Linked DNA regions of Homo sapiens: regions 2, 3 and 4 are each linked to region 1. Evidence: promoter capture Hi-C in human tissues and cell types (Jung and others, 2019). All regions are on one chromosome and are shown on one strand. The core of a region is centred on a gene start or on the middle of the fragment in contact, and the rest is flanking DNA. Distances in the headings are between cores, read along the strand shown. Region 1 holds the start of DNAL1 (dynein axonemal light chain 1). Region 2 overlaps ZNF410 (zinc finger protein 410). Region 3 has its middle 11 kb from the start of NUMB. Region 4 has its middle 6.4 kb from the start of PTGR2.

Region 1 (2,838 bases), core at 235-2,734:
AAACTCCTCAAATGATCCTCCTGCTTCAGTCTCCCCAGTAGCTGGGACTATGGGTGTTGTACCACCATGCCTCGCTAATTTTTATTTTTTACAGAGCCAGGGTCTTGTTACGTTGCCCAGGCTGGTCTTGAACTCCTGGGTTCAAGGGATCCTCTTACTTTGGCCTCCCAAATTTCTGGGATTACAGGCATGAACAAACTGCACCAGGCCACTATGTATAATTTTAAAGGAAAATCGTACCAACTATTTTGTTTGGTAACTTCTATTTTTACTTGAAATATGACTATCTTTGGATGTGAATAGATGCCTTTCAGCAAGTCAATTGTACTTTTTTAGTGTAAGTACATTATTGCATTGGATGTTCAATACTACTAACCAATTTTCTCTCTCTTTTTGTTTGTTTGTTTGTTTGTTTTGAGACGGAGTGTCACTCTTGTTGCCCAGACTGGAGTGCAATGGCGCGATCTCGGCTCACTGCAACCTCCGCCTCCCGGGTTCAAGCAATTCTCGTGCCTCAGGCTCCGGAATTGCTGGGACTACAGGCGCGTGCCACCACACCCGGCTAATTTTTGTATTTTTAGTAGAGACGGGGTTTCACCATGTTGGCCAGGCTGGGCTCAAGTGGTCAAGTGGTCCGCCCTCCTCAGCCTCCTAAAGTGCTAGGATTACAGGCGTGAGCCACCAGTCCCGGCCACCAATTCTCTTTTGTTGATAATTGAGTTGATTTTTTTTTTTCTATTAAAGCTTTGAACATACATCTCTGTGCTCAGGATAAAGTCCTGGAAGTGGAACTGCTGGATCACAAAGGGTGCAAAAGTTTTTGAACAGCCAACAGCCTTCCAGAAAGGCTGTATCAATTATAAACAGCAGCGTATTTGTGTGTCCCTACTTCACCATACCCCTAGCAACTCTATGAATTATTATTATTGTTAATAATTTTTAGCTCATTTGGTAGGTGGGGAAAAAAAGACACCCTGGTGATTAAAACCAACAATTTGTGATATTTAAAATGTGGAACCGAGCTTTCAGCTGCCTCTGGCTCCCTGGAGGATCCGGGGTAAAGAAACATAAAATGGGTGGAGTTTGGCTCTGGTATTCTCAGTGGGATGGGATGGAGAGGGAAATTACAGCAAGCCGCTTATTCTCCCCTCGTCCGGAAAAGGGTGGGAAACGCCATCGTTAGGGCAAAGGAATTAAGAACATTATTTTATGAAAAGGGTAGTTGTTAGGGGGACGTTTTAAGGTTTTTAACTTTAGGCGGACAAGTCACTACAGATCAGCTGAAATTGCTTTCGGTCCTGACTACTCCTGTGCGGGGTTAAGACCTAAGGAAGCAAAAGGGCAGCCAGCAACAGCCGGACGGGAGGACCCCGGCGGCCGCCACGCAGTCCCACAATGCCCCGCTCGCACCACCCTGAGGGCGGAGAGAAAGGACCGCTGCCGGGGATAGGGCTTCCGCCGAGAGCGCCGAGAAGTGCGCACGCGCACTGACCCCGCGGGCCCTAGCAACCAGAGCAGTGACAGTAGCAACCGCCGGAATGGTGAGTACCTTTCGGGCCGCGTAGCCAAAGCTGAGAGAAGATTGGGAGTGGAAAAGGGTGACTGTGGAGTGTTGAGGGTCTGGGGGTCCTTGAACAGCGGAAGGGAGCCGGTAGCTGACGCTAGCTCTGTGGAGTCAGGGGCCCGAGGCGAAAGAGAAGCCCTGGCCGGGGGTGGTCTGTGGTGAGGGCGGCCTGGGGTGGATCGGAGGTTGGGTTAAGGTGGAGGGACTCAGACAGGAGAAAAGGGAGGGCGAAGAGCAGGAAATTCTCTAAAAAGAGCGTATTGGAGTGGGAAGGGTGATGGGAAGGAGAGTGTAGATAAAGATATCTCTTTACATAGAAGTAATTTTAGTGACCCCCCCGTCGAGATGCAGGGAGGGGCTGGTTACCAGAGGGTTCTGTATAACACGGATTGCAGCAGTTTTCGTAACCTGTGATGTACCCAGGTTGCCTTCTGAATGACTACGAGGGCAGTTATTAGGTGACACTGTAAAGCACACTCTGATGGATATATTAGAGCAGTGATTCTCAAATTTCAGTATGCATAGGTATGGGCTTGTTGGAATGCAGATTGTGAATTTTTAATATGATTGGGGGTTTCAGGAATGTGCATTTCGACAACACACCTCAAGTGATTATAAAATTGGAGGGCATCCCACCACACTGAGAAATGCTGTTGCCTTAGGTTTGAAATCTACCAGCTGTCTATCCAATGAGAGCTCTTTATGAAGTAATGGTTTTACCTAGAGATGCTCCTCAACTCTTACTTGATGTGTTCACTCTCTTGCTTACATACTTGGTAGTTCTAACTAGTCGTTTGAAAAGGATTGCAGACCCAGCCAGAGCTATTGAGCAAAGTATGTGATGTCCTACTGGATAGAGATGTTTATGAAGAAGAAGCATAATTACTTGTCTTCTTTTTGTGATTCCAGTGCTATATAAGTGGGCAGAAATTGAGCCCAGGAGATGGAAATGATGAGGAAGTCATGCCTGCCCTCAACAAGATGAAATACCACTCTTTAAAAAGTAGTTTCCCCCCTGCTTTCCTTACTTTGTTCCCCAAGCAGTTAGCTGAAAATCACTGCCAAGGAAAGTTAAAAGTTCTGGAACCTAGGTTTATATTCAGGTGAAGAAAGGCTCAGACCTAAATATTTATGAAAGTATGAACCATGGTGATTGTTGAAAATCTTCAAATAGAGAATCAGAACCAGTACAGTTATAAGTCACTTAATGATGACAGGGATACATTCTAACAAACACATTATTGGCAGTTTTGCCTTGCAAACATCATAGAATA
Region 2 (3,164 bases), core at 123-2,622, 260 kb after region 1:
GAGAAATATAAACTCTCAGGCCCATGCCAGACCTACTGAGTCAAAAACTTGGTTCTGATACATGTTAAAGCTTGAGAACCACGGCTCTATTCAGACCACTGCAGAATCTTTGCTTATGTAGCATGTCATGGATACTTTTTTAGGTCTGCCTCTGTGTTTTCTCATTAACATGTGACACAACTCAATACAACATGGTTTAATGCTATCATTATCACAAACTAAGCTTAAGCACTTAGTACACAGTTGTTTGGAGTTTATGCAGATTATCTAGTATATGCTTATTATTATTTTTTGATTACCATTCAAATGAAAATAAAAAGTTAAAATTTCTCATAGAGAACTAGAGTTCCCTATGAATATTTTGAAACATTAAATCTTTTTTTTTTTTGGTCTTTTTTTTTCCCTTTTTATGGAGAATGAGGTTTTGCTCTGTTGCCAGACAGGTCTCAAACTCCTGGACTCAGGGTCTCCTCCTGCCTCTGGCTCCCTAAGTGCTGGGATTTTAGGTGTGAGCAACCATCCCCAGCCAAACTCTAAACTGTTTGTTTTCAAAATACTTAGTTCTGTTTATGACTACCATAGTGCTACTTAGAATGGTTCATTTTAACATTTTGGTGGGACCCTTAAAGTTCAGATTCTTCCTGAGATATATGTGCCAATCTCCAGATGCTGAAACCTTCAGCATTTCCTCTTACATTGAAGAAATAGTGTCATATTTGCCAATGAGAAGCAGCGTAGGGAGGGGAGCTTGCAATTTAGAATCTGGGAGCCCTGGGATCCAGGCCTGGCACCATCATTTACTGGTTCCCTGCCTTGGGCAGTTTAACCTCCCTTAGCTTCAATTTTCTTACGATCTGAACATAGAGATCAGGCAGCTTTCCTGACTGGCTTGTTATGGAGATTATGTAACATTCTATCTGGGAAATGTTATAATCAGCAAAGCATTGTGTGGATGTTTTTCTTACTCTCAAAGTATGTTGCCTTACTATCTTAACAACTACTTTGTATGCCTGAATATAAAATCACCCCAAATAGGCTGGGCATTGTGGCTCATGCCTGTAATCCCTGCACTTTGGGAGGCCGAGGCAGGCAGATCATCTGAGGTCAGGAATTCGAGACCAGCCTGACCAACGTGGAGAAATCCCGTCTCTACTAAAAATACAAAATTAGCTGGGCGTGGTGGCGCATGCATGTAATCCCAGCTACTCAGGAAGGCTGAGACAGAACTGCTTGAACCCGGGAGGTGGAGGTTGCAGTGAGTGGAGATCGCACCACTGCACTCCAGCCTGGGCAACAAGAGCGAAACTTGGTCTCCCAAAAAAAAAAAAAATCACCCCAAATATAAGACAATCTTTTATTTTCCAACAAGATAATACCCTAAAAGCCTTTTATTTTTTTCTAACTTAGTTATGTAAACTTTTAAGCATGTAGATAAAATTAACATTATAGGTTGCTATTTGGAAGCTTTATGATTTTGGTTATACATACACATTTTAATTTTTTTTTTTTTTTTGAGACCGAGTCTCAGTCTGTCGCCCAGGCTGGAGTGCAGCGGCGCAATCTCGGCTCACTGCAAACTCTGCCTCCTGGGCTCAAGTGATTCTCTGCCTCAGCCTCCCGAGTAGCTGGGACTACATGTGCATGCCACCATGCCCAGCTAATTTTTGTATTTCTAGTAGACACAGGGTTTCACCGTGTTGGCCATGGCTGGTCTCAAACTCCTGACCCAAGGTGATCTGCCTGCCTCTGCCTCCCGCAGTGCTGGGATTACATGCGTGAGCCACCGTGCGTGGTCCCACATATACATTTTAAATCATATGAAATATATCAATATTGCTTTCACCCACTAACACAAGCTTGTCCAACATACGGCCTGTGGGCACGTGTGGCCCAGGATACCTTTGAATGCAGCCCAACACAAATTCGTAAACTTTCTTAAAACATTATGAGATTTTTTTGTTTGTTTGCTTTTAAAGCTCACCAGCTGTCATTAGTATTAGTATATTTTATGTGTGGTCCAAGACATTTCTTCTTTCAGTGTGGCTCAGGGAAGCCAAAAGATTGGACACCCTTGCACTAACATGTAATGAAGTGATTTTATTCAATATTTTAATGCATTTTTAACATAAATATTTTTGTCATTGTTGACACTGAAGTCACTTTATGAGTCCTCTAGCATAGTTTTTCAGAGCATGTTATCTTCACTTACAGTCTAAGTTGTTTGAAATACAGAAACGTTTTAATTTTGCATAAGATGTTGTATATCAGATCAGCAAAGGCCTTTGGGCCAAATCCCCACCTGTTTTTATAATTAAAGTTTTATGGGAACATAGGCATCCACATTACTTACAAATTGTCTAAGGCTGCTACTATGGCAAAGCTGAGTAGTTGTAACAGAAACCATACGGCAGCCGGGCGCAGTGGTTCACACCTATAATCCCAGCACTTTGGGAGGCCAAGGTGGGCAGATCACTGGAGGTCAGGAGTTCAAGACCAGCCTGGCCAACATGATAGAACTCAAATACACTCTTTTCTGAGGGATTTTTTTTTTTTTTTAGGGAAAAATTTGCGTTATATTTATTTGACCATATATTGATAATCTTCATTCTTGAGCAGGAGGAGTTTCAGTGATTTCTTAGCCTTGCCTTATTCTATGTATTCATTTTTCCTATTTTATGATTATATTAATATTCTTATTGTATCTATAAAACGGAATCCAGAAAGCCCCTACTATCACTGATTTGAATCACTGTATTAGCATGATTTTTTTGGCCGGTGCAGTGGCTCATGCCTGTAATCCCAGCACTTTGGGTGGCCGAGGCGGGTGGATCTGTTGAGCTCAGGAGACCAGCCTGGGCAACATGGCAAAACCCCATCTCTACAAAAAAAAAATAGAAAAAATTAGCCAGGTGTGGTAGTGCACACCTGTCTCTAGTCCCAGCTACTTGGGAGGCTGAGGTGGGAGGATCTCCTGAGTTGGGGAGGTCGAGGCTGCAGTGAACCGAGATCATGCCACTGGATTCCAGCCTGGGCAACAAAATGAGACCCTGTCTCAAAAAAAAAAAAAGAAAAAATTTAAAAGAAAAAAGCATGATGTTAACAGACCTTTCATTAGAAATCAATTAGCTGGAGTTCTGGGGTTGGTGGGAAGATTCCTTCACGGC
Region 3 (2,985 bases), core at 421-2,920, 170 kb before region 1:
AGGCCTAACTTGCCTAGGGTGATGATCTACAGGCTATGACCTGATGACACTTCTCCCTTTCTCTCCTCTCTTTCTCTCTTTCACGTGTGCATAAGGCAACTTAGAAACATTAATTCACCAAAGAATACTTGGAGATTCCCAAATGATCACCCCAATTGTGGCTCTTCATCTCCAAACACTTAGCCTTTTTTTTTTTTTTTAAAGGAATGTGATGTGCTTAAACCAGATCTTTTTTCTTTCTATTTGGCAGGTACATAGGCACATGACCCTAGTATTTTCCTTCTCTATTTATTCCCTTCTATACTTTACCACAAATACTTCCACTTGACTCCCTCTTCTGGTCTCTGTTCTATGAACCATCTAGATTATCATTCCAAATGAATACATTTGTGTTTGAGCCCTTAAATGCAAGAATATTTCCCTTCCTGGTCTCTCCAAAGCTAACAGGCTAACTAGACTCAGAACAGGACTTTAATCTAAGCTGGCAATAAGTGCTTACCTGTCCTGAATGACCTAAGCTGCAATCATCCTGGGTCACAATCATCAGAGGAACAGATATTATTTTTCTCCTATTGCACGAAGTGGACAAAGGTTGTCTAGATGGTGCAGAATGGATCTCGATAAAGCCAGAGCTCCTTGTGAAATAAGAAAAATCTCAAGAATGGGCATGTGACTGCTAAGCAAGCTCTGTGGGAGAGCTCAACCTATAATATTACAAGTGGCATGCGTAAGATCAACATGAACTCATCTCTCAAATCCCCAAATCTTAGGTTTCAATGTCTCTTACAAAGTTCCAGGAGAGTTAAGCTTAGGACCAATATAAAGGAAGACTACTCCAAACTGTAGGTAGTAAATGCATGGCACTCATTACCCAGGGAGGGAATACAATCAGAATACAGAAAAAAAATCAGGGCAACATTTATGAATTGCAGAGCCATATATGAGTAAAACTGGATGGATCTTGAACTACTCATTTTCAACCCTAGTCCTATGTGAAAGTCTCATGTCTCTCTCCTAGGTCCTAGTATTCCAACTCAGTAGGTTGGAGTGGGGTCTGTATATAGTTGCAAAGCTCCCCCAGGTGATTCTGATTTATAACCAGGTTTGAGGACCACTACTTGAATAACTTGAATAACCTTTAACCTGCTGGATAGGTCTGACCCAGCCTGGTCATCCTTACGGTCCTAATTGTCAAACTGCTTGGTTGATGAATGACAACTCAAACAGATACAGCTGTATACCTGCAACATAAGAACAAACTCCAGAGCAGTCATTAGACCCTGAATCTACAGATCAAATCAAGCAGTATAATAATGCTCTGGTCCCTGGCTCATTTAGAGTCTTCTCCAAGATCTCTAAGTCTTTCCCACCTTAGGGATGAATCAGCGGAGGCACTTAAAACAAGGTACTACTTTTGGAAGGAAATATTCAGATTTGCTTATAAGAATAAGATGCAGACTTCTTTTTTCTTTTCTTCTCTTTTTTTTTTTTTTTTGAGATGGAATCTCTCTTTGTTCCCCAGGCTGGAGTGCAATGGCATGATCTCGGCTCACTGCAGTCTCCACCTCCTGGGTTCAAGCGATTTTCCTGCCTCAGCCTCCTGAGTAGCTGAGATTACAGGCAGGCACCACCACGCCCAGCTAATTTTTGTACTTTTAGCAGAAATGGGGTTTCCCCATATTGACCAGGCTGGTCTCGAACTCCTGACCTCAAGTGATCCACCCACCTCAGGCTCCCATATTGCTGGGATTATAGGCATGAGCCGCCGCGCCTAGGCAGATGCAGGCTTCTTTACATATTTCTGTCACGGCTCTTTTTGCACAATGTTTAACACAGTACTAGGAATTCGTTTATTCAGTAAACATTTATTGATTAAAAATTAGTTACATACCCAATGCCAATAGTTTGTTGCTGAGGATATAAATAATTAAATAAGGCAGTGATAAAACAGACCAGATGTGATCTCTAGCTTCTTAGTTACCTAATAAGCTCTCAAAAATATTCTTTTATCATAGTGGCTGGATACAGTGTAAAACTCTACCTAAGGGTCATCCTACCCTCTTAGGAACACAACATTTAAGTTCTTTCGAAGACCGAGCTACCCTGGGGCCAAGAACAACTATAAAAAAAGTGCCTACCTTTTCTTCTCAAATGTACCTACAAGTGAAGGTTAAAAATGAACTTCTGGCTGGGCACGTTGGCTCACGCCAGTAATCCCAGCACTTTGGGAGGCCAAGGCAGGCAGATCCTGAGGTCAGGAGTTCAAGACCGGCCTGAGCAACATGGAGGAAACCCCCGTCTCTACTAAAAATACAAAATTAGCCGGGCGTGCTGGTGCATGCCTGTAATCCTAGCTACTCAGGAGGCTGAGGCAGGAGAATCGCTTGAACCCAGGAGGCAGAGGTTGCAGTGAGCCAAGATTGCGCCATTGCACTCCAGCCTGGGCAACAAGATCGAAACTCTGTCTCAAGAAAAAAAAAAAAAGAACATCTGGAGAATGAGAACTATGCTATATTCATCTTTGAATTTCCAGTACCAGGTACAGTACCTTGCACATAGTAAGTGTTCAGTGTTTTAAATTTTTTTTTTTTTTTTTTGGAGACAGAGTCCCACTCTGTCACAGGCTGGAGTGCAGTGGCGCGATCTCAGCTCACTGCAACTTCTGCCTCCCAGGTTCAAGCAATTCTCTTGCCTCAGCCTCCCGAGTAGCTGGGGCTACAGGCATCTGCCACCACACCCGGCTAATTTTTTGTATTTTAGTAGAGATGGGGTTTCACCATGTTGCCCAGGCTGGTCTCAAACTTCTGATCTCAGGCAATCCACCTGCCTCGGCCTCCCAAAGTGCTAGGATTACAGGCGTGAGCCACCGCGCCTGGCCCAGTGTTTTTAAATTTTAATTAATTAATTAATTTTGAGACAGGGTCTGGCTCTGTCACCCACGCTGGAGTGCAGTGGCCCCATCTCGGCTCACTGTAACCTCTGCCT
Region 4 (2,810 bases), core at 62-2,561, 200 kb after region 1:
AGCTGGGCGTGGTGGCATATGCCTGTAATCCCAGCTACTCAGGAGGCTGAGGCAGGAGAATCACTTGAGCCTAGGAGACGGAGGTTGCAGTGAGCCAAGATCACGCCACTGCACTCCAGCCTGGGTGACAGAGCGAGACTCCATCTCAAAAAAAAAAAAAAAAAAAGTTTATGAGCCAATATTGACACATTATTGTTAACTGAAGTCCAAAAGTTACATAATTACATTAAGATTTACTTTAGTTATTTACTTATTTTTAGAGAGACAGAGTCTCCCTCTGTTGCCCAGGCTGGAGTGCAGTGGTACAATTATAGCTCACTCACTGCAGTCTCCACCTCCTGGACTCAAGTGATCTTCCTGTCTCAGCCTCCCCAGTAGCTGGGACTACAATCACGTGCCACCACATCTGGCCAATTTTTAACATTTTTTGTAGAGAGAGGAATCTTATGTTGCCCAGGCTGGTCTTGAACTCCTCACCTCAAGTGATCCTCCCACCTTGACCTCCCAAAGTGCTAGGATTATAGGCGTGAGACACCGCACTGGACTGGGACCATTAAAAAAAATTTTTTTTTGAGATGGAGTCTTACTCTGTCACCCAGGCTGGAGTGGCAGTGGCCTGATCTTGGGTCACTGCAACCTCTGCCTCCTGGGCTCAAGTGATTCTCCTAGCTCAGCCTCCCCAGTAGCTATGACTGCAGGTGTGCACCACCACGCCCAGCTAATTTTCGTATTTTTCTGTAGTAGAGAGGGGGTTTTACCATGTTGGCCAGGCTGGTCTGGAACTCCTTACCTCAAGTGATCCACCTGCCTCAGCCTCCCAAAGTGCTGGGATTACAGGTGTGAGCCACCGCACCCAGCCCCTGGGACCATTTTTTTTTTTTTTTTTGAGATGGAATCTTGCTCTGTCGCCAAGGCTGGAGTGCAGTGGCACGATCTCGGCGCACTGCAAGCTCCGCCTCTCCTGGGACCATTTTTTAATTCGGTTGATTGTCTTCATATATCCTTGTTTTTTTGTTTTCTTATTCAGACATTCAGCAGCCATATCTCATAATTATCTTCATACTATTGAGTTATGAGTTCTTTATGTGTTTTCAATATAAGCCTTTTATCAGATGTATGATTTGCAAATATTTTCTTCCAGTCTGTGGCTTATCTTTTCATTTTCATTTTTTTTTTTTGGTTTTGAGAGAGAGTCACAGTCTGTTGCCCGGGCTGGAGGGTAGTGGTATGATCAAGGCTCACTGCAGCCTCAACCTCCCAGGCTCAAGTGATCCTTCCACCATAGCCTGCTGAGTAAGTTGGGACTACAGGCCTGTACCACCACACCCAGCTATTAATAATTATTTCTTGAATTTCAGTAGAGACAAGGTCTCCCTATGTTGCCCAGGCTGGTACAGAAATCCTAAACTCAAGCAATCTGCCCGCCTTGACCTCCCAGTGTTGGGATTACAGGTGTGAGCCACCACCCATGGCCCTTTCATTTTCTTAAGGTACTTTATATTTTAAATTTTGATAAATTCTAATTTATCACATTTTCTTCTATGGTTTCTGCTTTTGGTGTCTTTTTTTGAGTTTTATATTTTTACCTCTTAGGTTTTGGTTTATAATCCATTTTGAATTAATTTTTGTATTTGGTGTGAGCAAAGATTCAAGTTTCTTTTTGTTGTTTTTGTTTTCCAGGGCTTTGCTTTTGTTTTTTGGTGTATGGATATCCAATTGCGCCGGCATCATTTATTGAGATTATCATTTTGCTACTGAGTTGTCTTGACCCCTTTGTAAAAAATCAATTAACTATAATGTAGGAAGGGTTTATTTCAAGACTCTTCTCTTCCATTGATCTATTTATCCTTGCATCAACAGCACAATGCCTTGATTACTACAGTTTTTTAAATACAATATTTATACGATTTAAGAATACATCCTATGCCAGGCGCGGTGGCTCATGCATAATCCCAGCACTTTGGGAGGCCAAGGTGGGCAGGTAACTTGAGACCAGGAGTTTGAGACCAGCCTGGCCAACATGGCGAAACCCTGTCTCCACTAAAAATAAGAAAATTAGCCAGGCATGGTAGCATGTGCCTGTAATTCCAGCTACTTGGGAGGCCGAGGCATGAGAATAGCTTGAGTGAGCTGAGACTGTGCCACTGCACTCCAGCCTGGGCAACAGAACAAGACTGTCTCAAAAAAAAAAAAAAAAAAAAAAAGAAAGAAAAGAAAGCAAGCTTGGAAGTGGATTCTTCCCCAGCTGAGTCTTCTTATGAGACCACAGCCCAGCCCAGACTGGCAGCTTGATTACAGAGACCTTGAGCCAGAATCACCCAGCTAAACTGTGCATGGCTTCCTGATCCTTCAAAACTCTGAGATAATACAATAAAAGTTCATAGTTTTTGTTTGTTTGTTTGTTTGTTTTTTGAGATGGAGTCTAGCTCTGTCACCCAGGCTGGAGTGCAGTGGCACAATCTTGGCTCACTGCAACCTCTGACTCCTGGGTTCAAGTGATTCTCCTTCCTCAGCCTCCTGAGTAGCTGGGATTACAGGCGCCCGGCACCACACCCAGCTAATTTTTGTATTTTTAGTAGAGACGGGGTTTCACTGTGTTGGCCAGGCTGGTCTCGAACTCCTGACCTCGTGATCCACCCACTTTGGCCCCCAGAAAGTGCTGGGATTACAAGCGTGAGCCACGGAAAAGTTCATTGTTTTAAACCACTAAGTTTTGGGGGTAATTTGTTTGTAGCAATAGATAACGATACAACAGCCAATCTTCAAAAGTTTTTCTTTCAAGGTTATTTTCACTTGGCATGCAAGAATTT

Evidence for each region. Contacts are between HindIII fragments. The study calls those that stand out against the background at their distance.
Region 2: a fragment that was not itself captured here is called in contact with the fragment with the promoter of DNAL1 in region 1 in 7 of the 25 tissues and cell types used here (H1 embryonic stem cells, dorsolateral prefrontal cortex, hippocampus and 4 more).
Region 3: a fragment that was not itself captured here is called in contact with the fragment with the promoter of DNAL1 in region 1 in 2 of the 25 tissues and cell types used here (hippocampus and psoas muscle).
Region 4: a fragment that was not itself captured here is called in contact with the fragment with the promoter of DNAL1 in region 1 in 1 of the 25 tissues and cell types used here (mesenchymal stem cells).

The regions. Positions count from the first base shown.
Region 1 is chr14:73,643,502-73,646,339 of GRCh38, forward strand. It overlaps DNAL1 (dynein axonemal light chain 1), which reads left to right and starts at 1,485. Exons shown (of 8, transcript NM_031427.4): 1 at 1,485-1,541. The coding sequence starts at 1,539. The HindIII fragment of the contact is 10,054 bases long and covers 238-2,838 here.
Region 2 is chr14:73,898,880-73,902,043 of GRCh38, forward strand. The region is part of intron 5 of ZNF410 (zinc finger protein 410); the gene reads left to right. Among named protein-coding and RNA genes, the nearest start is that of ZNF410, 14 kb to the left of the region's middle. The HindIII fragment of the contact is 5,178 bases long and covers 1-3,164 here.
Region 3 is chr14:73,468,498-73,471,482 of GRCh38, forward strand. No RefSeq gene overlaps it. Among named protein-coding and RNA genes, the nearest start is that of NUMB, 11 kb to the left of the region's middle. The HindIII fragment of the contact is 4,687 bases long and covers 1-2,985 here.
Region 4 is chr14:73,844,036-73,846,845 of GRCh38, forward strand. No RefSeq gene overlaps it. Among named protein-coding and RNA genes, the nearest start is that of PTGR2, 6.4 kb to the right of the region's middle. The HindIII fragment of the contact is 3,095 bases long and covers 1-2,810 here.